Linked DNA regions of Homo sapiens: region 1 is linked to region 2. The links are contacts of gene promoters, found by promoter capture Hi-C in human tissues and cell types (Jung and others, 2019). All regions are on one chromosome and are shown on one strand. Each heading gives the region's core, a stretch centred on a gene start or on the middle of the fragment in contact. The rest is flanking DNA. Distances are from core to core; before and after follow the strand shown. Region 1 overlaps CCDC187 (coiled-coil domain containing 187). Region 2 holds the start of LHX3 (LIM homeobox 3).

Region 1 (6,313 bases), core at 3,683-6,182, 64 kb before region 2:
ATCGATGAATAAGAGACTGGAATTGAAATATCACGTTGCAATTTGCCGAGTTCTCCTTGCAGTTCTACCAGGTTTCGCTTCGTGTATTCTGAAGCTCTGACACCAGGCCCATAAACACTCGGGATCATTATGTGCTCTTGATGAACTCACCCCTCTATCATGATGCAATAATCCTCTTAGCCGCAGCAGTATCCTTCGCTTCAGAGGCTATTTTGTCTGATATTAATACAGCCCCTCCGGCTCTCCTTCAACGGGTGTTTCATGATATCTCCACTGCCATCCTTTTACTTTCCATTTATTTGCATCTTTGTATTTGAAGTGTGTTTCTTACAGGCAGCATAGAGTTGGATCTTGCTTAAAAAAATCAATCTGGCAATCTCTGCCTTTTAATTGAGGTGCTTACACTATTCACATTGAACGTGATGACGGATGTGGTTAGGTTTGAGTCTCACCTGGTTATTTTTCTTTTGTTCTGTCTGTCCTTTATTTTCTTCTTCCACTTAGTTTCTGCCTCCCTTTGGATTAAGCAATGTTTTTAATGATTCCATTTTATCTCCATTGTTGGCTCAGGAGCTATAACTCTTATTATTTTAGTGGCTGCTTTAGGATTTATAATAGTATATACAGTTGACCACTTCACTTATAGTACAAGGCCAATTCTTCTTTCCTGGCCTTTAAGTTATTGTTGTCATGAATTTTATTTTAAATGTTTTGTTTGTTTTTTGAGATGGGGGTCTCACTGTGTCACCCATGCTGGAGTGCAGTGGTGAGATCTCGGCTCACTGCAACCTCTGCCTTCTGGGCTCAAGCAATCCTCCTTCCTCAGCCTCCCAAGTCGCTGGGACCACAGGCATGCACCACCACCCCAAGCTAGTTTTTGTTTTTTTTTTTTTCTTGAGACAGAGTTTGCTCTTGTTGCCCAGGCTGGAGTGCAAAGGTGCAATCTTGGCTCACTGCAACCTCCACCTTGCAGGTTCAAGCGATTCTCCTGCCTCAGCCTCCTGAGTAGCTGGGATTACAAGTGTGCACCACCACGCCCAGCTAATTTTTGTATTTTTAGTAGAGACGGGGTTTCACCATGTTGGCCAGGCTGGTCTCGAAGTCCTGACCTCAGGTGATCCACCTGCCTCGATCTCCCAAAGTGCTGGGATTACAGGCGTGAGCCACCACGCCCGGCCATTTTTGTATTTTTTGTAGAGATGGGGTTTTGCCATGTTGCCCAGGCTTATTTTAAATGTTTTATAAACTCTGCGATACATTGTTATCATTTTGTTTAAACAGCCAATTATCTTGTTAAAAGTTTTAAATAATATATGTGTTTATATTTACATCTGCACATAGTCGTCATTTTACCATTTCTGGTGCTCTCCATTGCTTCCGGTAGATGTAGATTTCTAACCCGCATCCTTTTCCTTCTGCTGGAAGGATTTCCCTTAGCATTTCTGGTGGTGCGTGTCTGCTGGTGTCTTTAGCTTTTGGATGTCTAAGGACACCTTCATCTCATCTCTGTTTTTGACGTACTCTTTCCTGGACATAGAATTCTAGGTGCAGTTTTTCCCTTTCAGTACTTTGAAGACATTGCTCCATTGTCTTCTTGCTTGCATTATTTGTGACAAGAAATTGATTGCCATTCTTCTTGGTTCGTCAGTACATCACCGTGTCTTTGTTTCTCTGGCTGCTTTTGACTTTCTCAGCCAGGCGTGGTGGCTCACACCTGGAATCCCAGCACTGTGGGAGGCCCAGGCAGGTGGATCACGAGGTCAGGAGATCAAGACCATCCTGGCTAACATGGTGAAACCCCATCTCTACTAAAAATACAAAAAATTAGCCAGATGCGGTGGCGGGTGCCTGTAGTCCCAGCTACTCGGGAGGCTGAGGCAGGAGAATGGCGTGAACCCAGGAGGCGGAGCTTGCAGTGAGCCGAGATCGCGCCACCGCACTCCAGCCTGGCTGACAGAGTGAGACTCCGTCTCAAAAAAAAAAAAAAAAAAAGACTTTCTCTTTGTTACTGGTTTTGAGCAATTTTATTATGATGTCCTTTGTTATTGTTATTCTTCATTTTTTAATTTTTATTTTTTGAGACAGAGTCTCGCTCTGTTGCCCAAGCTGGAGTGCAATGGCACAATCTCGGCTCACTGCAACCTCTGCGTCTCAGGTTCAAGCGATTCTCCTGCCTCAGCCTCCCAAGTAGCTGGGATTACAGGCACCCACCACCACACCCGGCTAATTTTTGTATTTTTGTAGAGACAGGATTTCACCATGTTGGCCAGGCTGGTCTTGAACTCCTGACCTGAGGTGATTTGCCCACTTCAGCCTCCCAAAGTGCTGGGATTATAGGCAGGAGCCACCACGCCCAGACCATATTTCTTGTCCTCTGGGTTTGTTGAGATTCTTCGACCTGTGGATTTTTCATTTTCTTCAAATTTGGAAATAGTTCAGCCACTATTTGTTCAAATATCTTTTTGCTCCTCTTTCTCTCACCTCTCCTTCAGGGACTCCAATTATGTGGGCAGAAGATTACCCAGGTGCCGAGGCAAGAGACTGAAGGCACAAACTGTTTCAGTATAATAAAGAAAATAGTTAGAACAAGAATAGTTATATTACAAATTAGATATAGAGATGATCATGGACAATTATCAATCATTAGGATAAACATTATTAATCATTTAGCTTTTAATATTACTCTTTGTTGCATTACAAATATAACCTAGGGATAACCGGTGGGTATAGCATCAGGTCTGAAGGGACATTGTGAGAAGTGACCTGGAAGGTAAGAGGTGAGGCCTCTGTCACACCCGCATAAGGGCCGCTTGAGGGCTCCTTGGTCAAGCGGTAATGCCAGTGTCTGGGAAGGCACCCGTTACTTAGCTGACCATGAAAGGGAGTCTCCTTTCCTTGGAGGAGTCAGGGAACGCTCTGCTCCACCAGCTTCTTGTGGGAGGTTAGATATTATCCAGGCTTGCCCCCAGTCATCCGGAGGCCTAAACCCCTCCCTGTGGTGCTTCAGTGGTCACCCTCCTTGTCTACTTTCATGTTCCTCCCATACTCCTGGTTCCTCTTTAAAGTTCGTAGTAGATAGCAGAAGAAGAAATAGTGGAAGTCTTAAAGTCTCTGATCTTTCTTATAGTACACAGAAGAAAACGCTGATGTATGCTGCCTTCCCTCTCTGCTTCGGCTACCTAAAAGGGAAGGGCCCCCTGTCCTATGATCACGTGACTTGCTTGACCTTTTTAATCACTTGGACGACTCAGTGATTAAGACTCCTTACCCTGCCCCGTTGTCTTGTATACAATAAATATGAGCGTGCCCAGCCATTGGGGGCCACTACCTGTCTCCGCTTCTTGATGGTAGTGGTCCCCCGGGCCCAGCTGTTTTCTCTTTCTCTCTTTGCCTTGTGTCTTTATTTCTTACGATCTCTCATCTCCGCACATGGGGAGAACACCTGCTAAGCCCCGTAGGGCTGGAGCTTACACAATTACGCATACATTAGGCCACTTGAAGTTGTGAGCTTACTGAAGCTCTTTGTATTCTTTTATTCTTTTTTCTTCTCTGTTTCCTTTTGGATAGTTTCTATTGCTATATCTTCCAGTTCGTTCATCTCTCCTTCTGCAGTGTCTAGTCTGCCCTTCATCCCATCCAGTGTGTTTTTCATCTCAAGTGATTTAATTTTCATCAGTTTACACATTCCATTTGGATCTTTTCGTTTTATATCCTCTGTGGCTCTACTTAACATCTTAACATATGCGATAGAGTTACGAAACTTCTAATGTCCTTCTCTGCCAATTCTCACACCCACGTCAAGCCTGGGATACTGTTAATAAATTATCCTGCTCATTACTGGTTGTGTTTTTCTGGTTTCTTTGCATATCTTCTGGGCCCTGTGAATTTTACCTTGCTGAGTGCTAGATATTTTTGTATTCTTGTAAACATTCCTTTTTTTTAATTTTTCCTTTTGAGACAGTCTCACTCTGTTGCCAGGCTGGAGTGCAGTGGCGCAATCTCAGCTCACTGCAACCTCTACCACCCAGGTTCAAGCAATTCCCCTGCCTCAGCCTCCCGAGTACCTGGGACTACAGGCGCCCACCACCACGCCCAGCTAATTTTTTGTATTTTAGTAGAGACGGGGTTTCACCATGTTAGCCAGGATGGTCTCCATCTCCTGACCTCGTGATCCACCCACCTTGGCCTCCCAAAGTGCTGGGATTACAGGCGTGAGCCACCGCACTGGCCCCTATAAACATTCTTAAGCTTTCTTCGGGACTGCAGTTATTTAGAAGTAATTTGGTCCTTTCAGACTTTTCATTAATAGTGTGTTAGGTCGATCTGGATCAGTGCTCAGCCTGGGGCTAATCATTTCCGACAGTCAAGGCAAGAACGTTCTGTGTACACTGCCTGCCCAGTGACCTGGGAGTCCTAAGGTCCTCCAGCCTGACTACTGGAAACAGGCGTCATTACCAGGCTTCCAGTCCCCCGGAACGCTTCTGTCCCAGCATCTGGTAGCTTCTTGACACGCATTCATCCATCAGTTCTCTACTGAATACTCCAGAGGGACACTTGATACATCTCAGAGGTCCTCTCTCTGTGCGACTCTCTCCTCTCTGACACTCTGCCCCCACAAACTCCAGCTGCCTTGGTCCTCCCAGACTCTCTGCTGTCTCCTCTACCCAGGGAGTCCTCCAGCTCAGCCAGCTTCCCCTCCCTCACCATAGCCTGGCAACTCTCTGAGGCAGTAAGCCGTGAGCATCGCAAGTCTCCTCCCCTCCTTTGTTTTCTGTCTCTCAGGGATCACTGTGCTATGTTGCCTCAAGTCCAGTGCCTGGAAAACTGTTATTTCATATGTGTGTGTGAAAAAATATATATATATGTATACACACACATATCTCTATATAAACACACATGTGTGTGTGTATTTACGTGATTTTTTCAGTTGTTGCAGATGGGATGGCAAAGCCAAAATCCAGTCCCTTTTGCTCTGTCTTTGGTGGGAGGGAACGTCCTTAAGGATCGCTTGAAGTACAGGCTCCTTTTTCCATCACTCAGAACAGAAGCATGGCCAGCAGAGGTCGGCAGCAGGTCAGCTACTTCAGCTGGGGATCTGGGATCTGCTGTCACCTGCCAGCTCCTTGGTGCTAGACCCCGACAGCCCTTCTCCCTCTCTGGGCCTCACTCTCCCCTCCTTTAGAAGCCTGTAGACGCAGAGCAGCTGGGCTGTCTCCCTGAGCTTCCTCTACTTTTGGTCTGGTCTTTCCCATGATCAGTAGGGTCACAAACCACAACTTCACATCAAGAGACTGCCTGTCCCTTCCCGCGTGGTCTTGTGGATTCTGCGTGAAGCCCTGTGTGTCCGGGATGGGATGGGGACACTAAACTGCCCTAGACCTCCTACTTTTATGAGGCCCTCCGGTAGAAATGGCCCCTGACACGGGGCACTCAGACCCCCTACATGACCCAACCATGGCGCTTCCTTCCTCAGAGGTGGAGGGCCCTGACGGAGCCCTCTCCCAGCTTCCCCTGGCCAAGTTCTTCCCTCCGGACAACCCCACCCACCAGGTACGTGGAGAGGTCCCCTGGGGGAGAGGCACAATTTCAGGACCCAGCACGGCCCTGGTAGTGGGCCCCGGACCCAACTGTCCTTCCACTAAGAAGGGCCAAGGCAGGTCCTGGGTTGGGAGGTTCTTCCGGCGATCGCGTCACCCGCTCTTCCAGCTGACAGCTACCCAAGCCCGTTCCTCCCGCCCTGGGTGACAGAGGGGGGCAGGCATTTCAACATGGTGCTTTGGGCAGGGTTAGCCCCCGCCCAGGTTGTATATTTTAGGGCAGGTGGCCTGGGCTTCCTGGATCAGGGCTGGTGGTGAGGCCGAGATGCTAAAGATCCTGCCTGCCCCGCCAGCTCACAGTCGGGGAAGCGAGGGCGGCATAGGGGGATGGGAGGGGCGGGCAGTCCGAGAGGGCTTCTCGGAGGCGGTGGCCTGTGCTGGGAGCGGTCTAGAAGCTAGGCGGTGACGCGGCCCACCCTACTGGAGCCCCGCGAGGCCCGGAAGCACCGAACCCAGAGCTTTAGGGGCCTTGGGCCGCTTCAAGCTGCAGATGCTGGAGCGGAGCCTGCGGGAGGAGGAGCTGCGAGCACAGCACCAGGCCGCGCTGCTGCGCCTGCGAGAGATGGCGCTCCAGGAGAAAACGCTCGCGGAGCTGGCCTGGCTGGAGCATCGACGAGGGTGAGCGCATGCGCCTGGCGCCGGCCCCGCCCCGCCGTAGCCCCGCCCTGCTGTAGCCCCGCCCTGCTGTAGCCCCGCCCCCTCCCTGCCCCGTCCGG
Region 2 (6,349 bases), core at 2,847-5,346:
CCTCTGCCCAGCCTGCCATGAGGAAATTAAGGGCCTGGCCAGCTGGGATGAAGGCCACGTGCTCACATTCTTGAAGCAGCACTATGGCCGCGACAACCTCTTAGACACGTATTCCGCAGACCAGGGGGATTCCAGTGAAGGAGGAACCCTGGCCAGGGGTGAGGAAGAGGAGAAAAGACTCACTCCCCCAGAGGTGTCCCATGGAGACCGAGACACCCAGAGCGTCCGTCCACCTGGTGCACTGGGCCCCAGGCCTGCCCTTCCAGAGAGCTTGCATCACAGCTTGGACGGGAAACTCCAGAGTCTGGATGGGCCCGGGGCCCACAAGGAGGTGGGCGGGGCCGCACCCTTCCTCGGGGTTGACTTCTCCAGCCTGGACATGAGTCTCTGTGTCGTGCTGTACGTGGCTTCATCCCTGTTCCTCATGGTGATGTACTTCTTCTTCCGGGTGAGGTCCAGGCGGTGGAAGGTCAAGCACCACCACCCGGCCGTGTGAGTGCCCGGGTGCTGCCAGCCACGGCGGAAGCTCCCTTGGAGGCAGCCCTGCCCCGTGCCACCTGCAGCTTTAATATTTATGATCAGGGATTTTATAAACATGCGGGCCTGGTTTCACATCGGATGGCACCTTTTGGCTTCAAAGTCCTGGTTTTACAAACGCTCTTCTAACAAGGGAAGAACACGGGGTAATTTTGTGGGGATATTTGCATTCCTGGCGTACTCAAGTCTGTTCATGCTCCTTTTGCAGGTCTTACAGCAAAAAGACTTCTGTATTTTTACTCTTCTAGATGTGAAAAGAGGGTGCAGAGTCCAGGCCAGATAGTCTTCCCCACACACTTTCATCTCGTTTCCTCCACTCCGCCCCATCCTGCAGGGCCTTGTTTTTGTATTTGGAGAACCTCGCCCATCCCCCCCGCGGCTCCTGGCTCCCCCCCACTCCCCTCGCTCCCCCTCCCCCCGCTCCCCCCACGCCCCCTGCTCCAGGCTGCCAAGTGTTTTCCTTTAGCCGGGCGGGGACAGACAGAGCCGGAAGCGCAGTCGGCCTCTGCAGCCCCTCCAAGCAAGTGCTCCAGGGACTATCCTGTGTTTGTAGCTGCTTCCCTAGGGCAGGTTCCTGAGGGCTCTCCTTGTTCCTCCGGGTGTTCGACACCAGACGTGGGGATTTCAACAGGGGAGGAGCCAAGGAATTCTGTGGCTGTGCTGCGTTTCAGAAAATAACCCCCAGAGGCCTTGGGCTGTGGACCTGGGGGTTGGAAGGATGGGGGCTCATTTAACCCTCAGAGGCAGCGCCTTTGTCTGTCTATCTGGTGACAAGAGAGAGACAAGTAAATGGGGGCCGTTGGGACGGCGGGTGCCTGGAGGGCAGCTCTGGGCTCAGCGGGCAGTGCTTAGAGCACAGGCCCCTCTGTTGGGGGATGGGGAGGAGAGCAGTCTGCCCTTGGGAGCGTAGGCCCCAGGGAGACTTCTAAAGCCCCCCCTGTCGTCTGCTCTTCACCCAGCACCACAGAGGCACCTGCTGCACACACAAGCATCTCACTCGGCCCACGGAGGGGGCCAGGCTTCCTTTGCCTGAAGCTGTTTTGGGAAGGGTCTCCACACAGGCACTGATCTCCCAAGCTTTTGTCATGATGTCTTTTACCATTTGATAATTTTAAACATTGTTTTTAAACCCAAAACATTTAGTGGTCCGTTGCCTCTGAAGATGTAAACAAACAAATACACTATTTCTGGGAACATTTATATTGAGATTCTTTGTGGCTATTGGTGTGTCTCACAGGCAAAATTTGATTTGGCTAAAATAGGCTCAGATGTATTTGTGTGCCCGTGTGTGTGTGTGTGTGTGTGTGTGTGTGTGTGTGTGTATGAGAGAGAGAGAGACTTTGACGGTTGTAGATATTTTTTCCGCTTTGCCTACTTTATGTTGTATAATCATGTGTTTACTAACAAGTTGATGACATGGATGTATTCATAAGACCATGTAATATTGATGTGATTGTTGTCGCTTGAGAAAAAAAGGCAACAGCTGATTCTTTCAACAACTGTCACAGAATGGCTGGGCTGAGAACGCTGCCCAGGGCCCTGCAGCTGGCGGGAGAGGTGTCTGGTGGGAGCGGTGTCTGGTGCGTCAGCCTGCTGCTTCGTGTCTCACTCGAGAGTTGCTTCTGGTTTCACACTTTTTAACCCCTCTGTGCTTTAGCAGCCGTGACCTTGCCTTCATTGCTTCATCCAGTGCAGGCCTGGGTTATTGAAGACACCAAAGTGTTTCTCTTCCAGTTTGAAAACCAGGCAGGTTTACACGTGGGTTTCAGTGTATTTGCCTTTGAACCCTTCAAACTAAACTTTAGCCTTTTGGCTGGTGTTGAATGTCTTTAGCTGGGGTGACCTGGAGTGACCTGGGACGGTGTTGTGGTTTACCGTCTCCAGCTTCAGCCTTTCCAGAAACCCTTGTGGAGGGCAGTGTTGGCTGCAGGTTTCATCATATTGCAGTTTGAGGTCACCACTATTTGGGGAACAAGCTTGCGTCCTGCTGAGGGGCAGGATTTTCAGCAGAGCGTCGGTGGGGCTGGGCCGTCGTGGAGGTGGCCCCAGGAGTCATATGGCCATACTCAGACACACCTTGTGTGGCCTGCTCAGAGCTGGATGCCACCTTTAGGCAATGTTTAGAGTCTATTTTCTAAAGTTTTAAGTATTTTAAGAGGTATTGAGACTAATGAATATAATAGTTCAGTAATTTAAATGCTTATTTATTTTCAGTGGAAGGATTTTTATTAAAAAGAAGCTAATTGACATGGAAATGTCAGTGAAATTTCTTACCTGCAAGGAAAGTGAACATTTTGTATTTAAGTAAACTATAATGTGCACATTTTAATAAAGAAATCTGACATTTGAAAAAATGGTGATTCTTTTGAAATGTGAACCAGCTCTACCAGTGGGAGTTGTGGTAGAGGCGGTGGGTGCAGAATGGACCCCTCTTTTGTTCACGTACTGGACATCTGAAATCCTAGAGTTTCTCCTATCGAATCATTGGCTTTTGGGACACAGCCCAAGGGTCGGATGGAAAGTAGAAGATGGAAAGCAGTGATAGATCATCTCCCTGGAGCTGATCTGGACGAGACTCACAGGACAAGACCCTTGATTTTACACAGGTTAAAGGGCAGCTGAGATGCATGTCAGCTACACACTTCAAAGAGCACGCGCGGCAGCCCAGCCTGAGGGCACCTCAGAGGACCCCCAGCTTGCTTGAGTGGCCATCCCTCTGCTTCCTGGGTGTGAGTGTCCTGCTAAGGCTGTTTGTGGTGTTCTGTGGGGTGCCCTTGACCCCGTGTTGTCTTCTGCCCCTCCCCTACTTTTGCTGTGCCAGTGGGGGCAGGGCAGTGGTCAACAGTCTTGCCTGTGGCTGTGGAGGAAGCCGGTTGGCACCTCCCTGGCCAGGCTGTGCAGAGGCTGGCAGTAACTCAGTCACTCGTCAGGCACCGAGCAGACACCAGCCTGGGTGTGTACTGGGCGATTCCTTCAGGCCCTGCCTATGCCCAAGGTCTTGAGTCCTCAGCAGTGCTTTTGTTACAGGGGACTGCAGGTGCCTCTCCTCCTGGCAGCCCGGAGGGGTGCGGGCTGAGCTCCTCCCAGAAGTTGGGGGTTGAGTTCAAGGAGGTTAAGAGTGGAAAGTTCCCTGACCAGCAAAACACCTGCAGGAGAGTGCCCCAGTGAGCCCTGGGCTGGAGTTGATCACGCATGGGGCTGCCCCGGGGCACGGCCTGGGCACTGCCTTCCAGAGGCTGCACGCCAGAAGGGTAGGGTCAGTGTCCTCCTGCCCTGCGGCTGGACGACCCGCTTGCTGCGAAACTCGGCGAATCCCAGCGCCTCAGCAGGGCCTGGAGCTTAGGGAGGAGCGGGCACGGCCACCCTGGGTCTCAGAGGGGTGAGGGCGGGGGCTGCCTTGAGTGCGGCCCAACCCAGCCAGGGAGGGAGGCGCGCCCGACACGGGGCAGAGGCGGGGGTGGGGACCGGGGCGACGAGAGGGGCCCCGGGAGGTGGGCGGGCGCGCGGGCGGGGCGGGCAGCGGGCGCCTCCTTCAGCACCGCGGACAGCGCCAGGCCCAGTGGCTCCCGGGCTCCCTGCCCCGCACGACGCGGCGGGACTTGGGAGCCCCGAACCCTCCAGGGGACGCTGACCTAGGAGGAGCGCGTCTCGCGCCACTCGGCCTGGTGGCCGCGATGCTGCTGGAAACGGGGCTCGAGCGCGACCGAGCGAGGCCCGGGGCCGCCGCCGTCTGCACCTTGGGCGGGACTCGGGGTAAGCCCCAGCAGGACACTGAGGACAGAAACGGCAAGGGCGGCAGAGGCGCGAGGAAGGGGGTGCGTGCAGGGCCAGCGGCCAGGCAAAGAAAGTCCCGCCGCTCTGCAGGCGGGACACAGAGATGGAAACTGCAGAGAGTGAGTTTCCAGATCCCAGGGTGGCGGGGAGGGCCTGACGCTGGCCTGCAAGAGTGCGGGACAGCGGTTGGAGTGGAGGCCCCTAGAAAAAAAGGGGGCATCGCAGGCACAGCTGGGGGGCGATGGGGCCGACCAAGGGGTGCTAGGTTCCCCCGGTGACCAGTGCCCGTCAGCTCTTGCACACAGCCCGGCCCAGGTCTCTGGACCCCACAGCAGGGGACCCAAGCCTGTGTCTCCCGCCTGAACCACCCTCCCCAAGGGCCATTCCATCACCACGGACGCTGGGAAATAATGGAGGCATTGTTGGAGGGCTGGCCAGATGCCAGCAGGGTGGGCCGCCTCCTTAACCTGCCGCCGCCCCTTCCCCAGTCCTGCCACACACGACCCCTGATCGCTTCGGCAGCAGCTGACACTCAGCCACCTGCACCCAGCACAGCCCGCACACACTCGGCTTTGCACCCGCGTGTCCTTGCCCTGGCCCTTCTTGGGTAACAAGTGCTGTGCAAAGTGAAGGGGCAGAAAGCTGGCTGCATGGGCCACTGCTCAAAACGGACACATCGGACCTGCTGGGAGCTAGGAGGGAGGGACTGTGGTTTCTTGTGCCCATCCTTCTGGGCCTGGGCCCTTAAAGCTCACAGTCCAGAAGCCATAGGCAGAGTGGACAGAGTATTGCTGTGAGACCCACAGGGAGAGGGACCTGCAGGATGGCATCAGCCCCTGGTCCCCCAACCCTTCCTGTGTGTTTCTGCGCACTGCCAGGGCACCCCTGCCTTTGCCAAGTCCTGTGCTGCCGAGGGCCACCCACTGCTGTGTTCTTCCCCGGGTGGCTGCCCAGGGCTGGTGCTGGCCCAGGGCCCTCTGGGCAGGGGTGGGTGCGTCCCTCTGCCTGCAAGGACAGGTGGGTTCTGGAGAGCTCACCTGTGTGGACTGGGGCAAGAGGCTGAAATATCAGGTAAGGGACCGTGTTCCAATGGAGCCGGAGTGCTGGGGGCTGGAAATGGAAGGTGTGCCCTGGGGCTTCCCCAGCTCGGCCCCTCACGACCCGAGGTCTTGGCTGCGTGTCCAGGACACAGAGCCTGTTCTCTCTCAAGGATTGCCCTTCCTCCCTGAGCCGTCCGGGGCCGCAGTTCCAGGGGTGGAGCCCAGAAGCCTGTTAGCATCTGGGATCGGTCCGGCACCTTGCGGTTCCGGTACGCAGCCCTCGGCGCCACACTCACCCCTTCTGCGTTTCGGGTTGAGCTCCCGCCGACCATCTGCTGCTCCCGAGGCCAAACCTCAGCGGCGGGAGGACCCTGCTGCCTTCTCGACCCCTCTCCCGGGAACCTTAGCCCTCCTGGCGTGTGCTCCAGCTCAGGCCTCTGCCTCTGGGCCGCTCCGGCGCAGGAAGCTGCGGGGCCGGGACGAACGCTGGCGGGAAGCCCTGACCTGGGCCCTCCCTTACCGGTGCCCGCCCTCGGGCCGGGCACGCGGGGCGGCCTCTGGGCACCGCAGGTCCCGGCGCAAAGGCGCTCAGAGTCCGCAGTGGCCCGGGCTGGTCTCCGCGACCCCCGGCCCCGCCCCGCCCCGCGGCCCCGCCCCCCGGCCGCTCCGCCCTCCGCTCGGCCAGAGGCTCCGGGCCCCAGGGCGGCCCGCGGGCGCAGCGCCCAGCAGCACCCGGAGTCGCTTGGACGCCGGTTCGGGGCTATTGCGGGGTGGCGTCGCTGGGCCCGGGAAAGTTCGGGACTGGAGAGTGGCGACGCCGGGCGGCGGGACCCATGGAGGCGCGCGGGGAGCTGGGCCCGGCCCGGGAGTCGGCGGGAGGCGACCTGCTGCTAGCACTGCTGGCGCGGAGGGCGGACCTGCGCCGAGGTGGGTGCCCGGGCCGAGTGGCTGCACCGGGGAGACCAGGAGATCCTCAGGCCTTTCCGGGCCTGGCCGCG

The links. The method cuts DNA at HindIII sites, captures the fragments that hold promoters and counts their contacts. A contact is called where the count stands out against the background at its distance.
Region 1: a fragment that was not itself captured here is called in contact with the fragment with the promoter of LHX3 in region 2 in 2 of the 25 tissues and cell types used here (IMR-90 fibroblasts and lymphoblastoid cells).

The regions. Positions count from the first base shown.
Region 1 is chr9:136,267,286-136,273,598 of GRCh38, reverse strand. CCDC187 (coiled-coil domain containing 187) reads left to right here. Exons shown (of 26, transcript NM_001378188.1): 15 at 5,474-5,550; 16 at 6,088-6,215. Among named protein-coding and RNA genes, the nearest start is that of QSOX2, 25 kb to the right of the region's middle. RefSeq lists an enhancer at 5,893-5,962 and silencers at 5,763-6,138, 6,203-6,313. The HindIII fragment of the contact is 6,359 bases long and covers 1,753-6,313 here.
Region 2 is chr9:136,202,875-136,209,223 of GRCh38, reverse strand. It overlaps LHX3 (LIM homeobox 3), which reads left to right and starts at 4,096. Exons shown (of 6, transcript NM_178138.6): 1 at 4,096-4,290. The coding sequence starts at 4,212. It overlaps QSOX2 (quiescin sulfhydryl oxidase 2), which reads left to right. Exons shown (of 12, transcript NM_181701.4): 12 at 1-2,891. The coding sequence ends at 496. RefSeq lists enhancers at 1-237, 238-789. The HindIII fragment of the contact is 12,211 bases long and covers 2,065-6,349 here.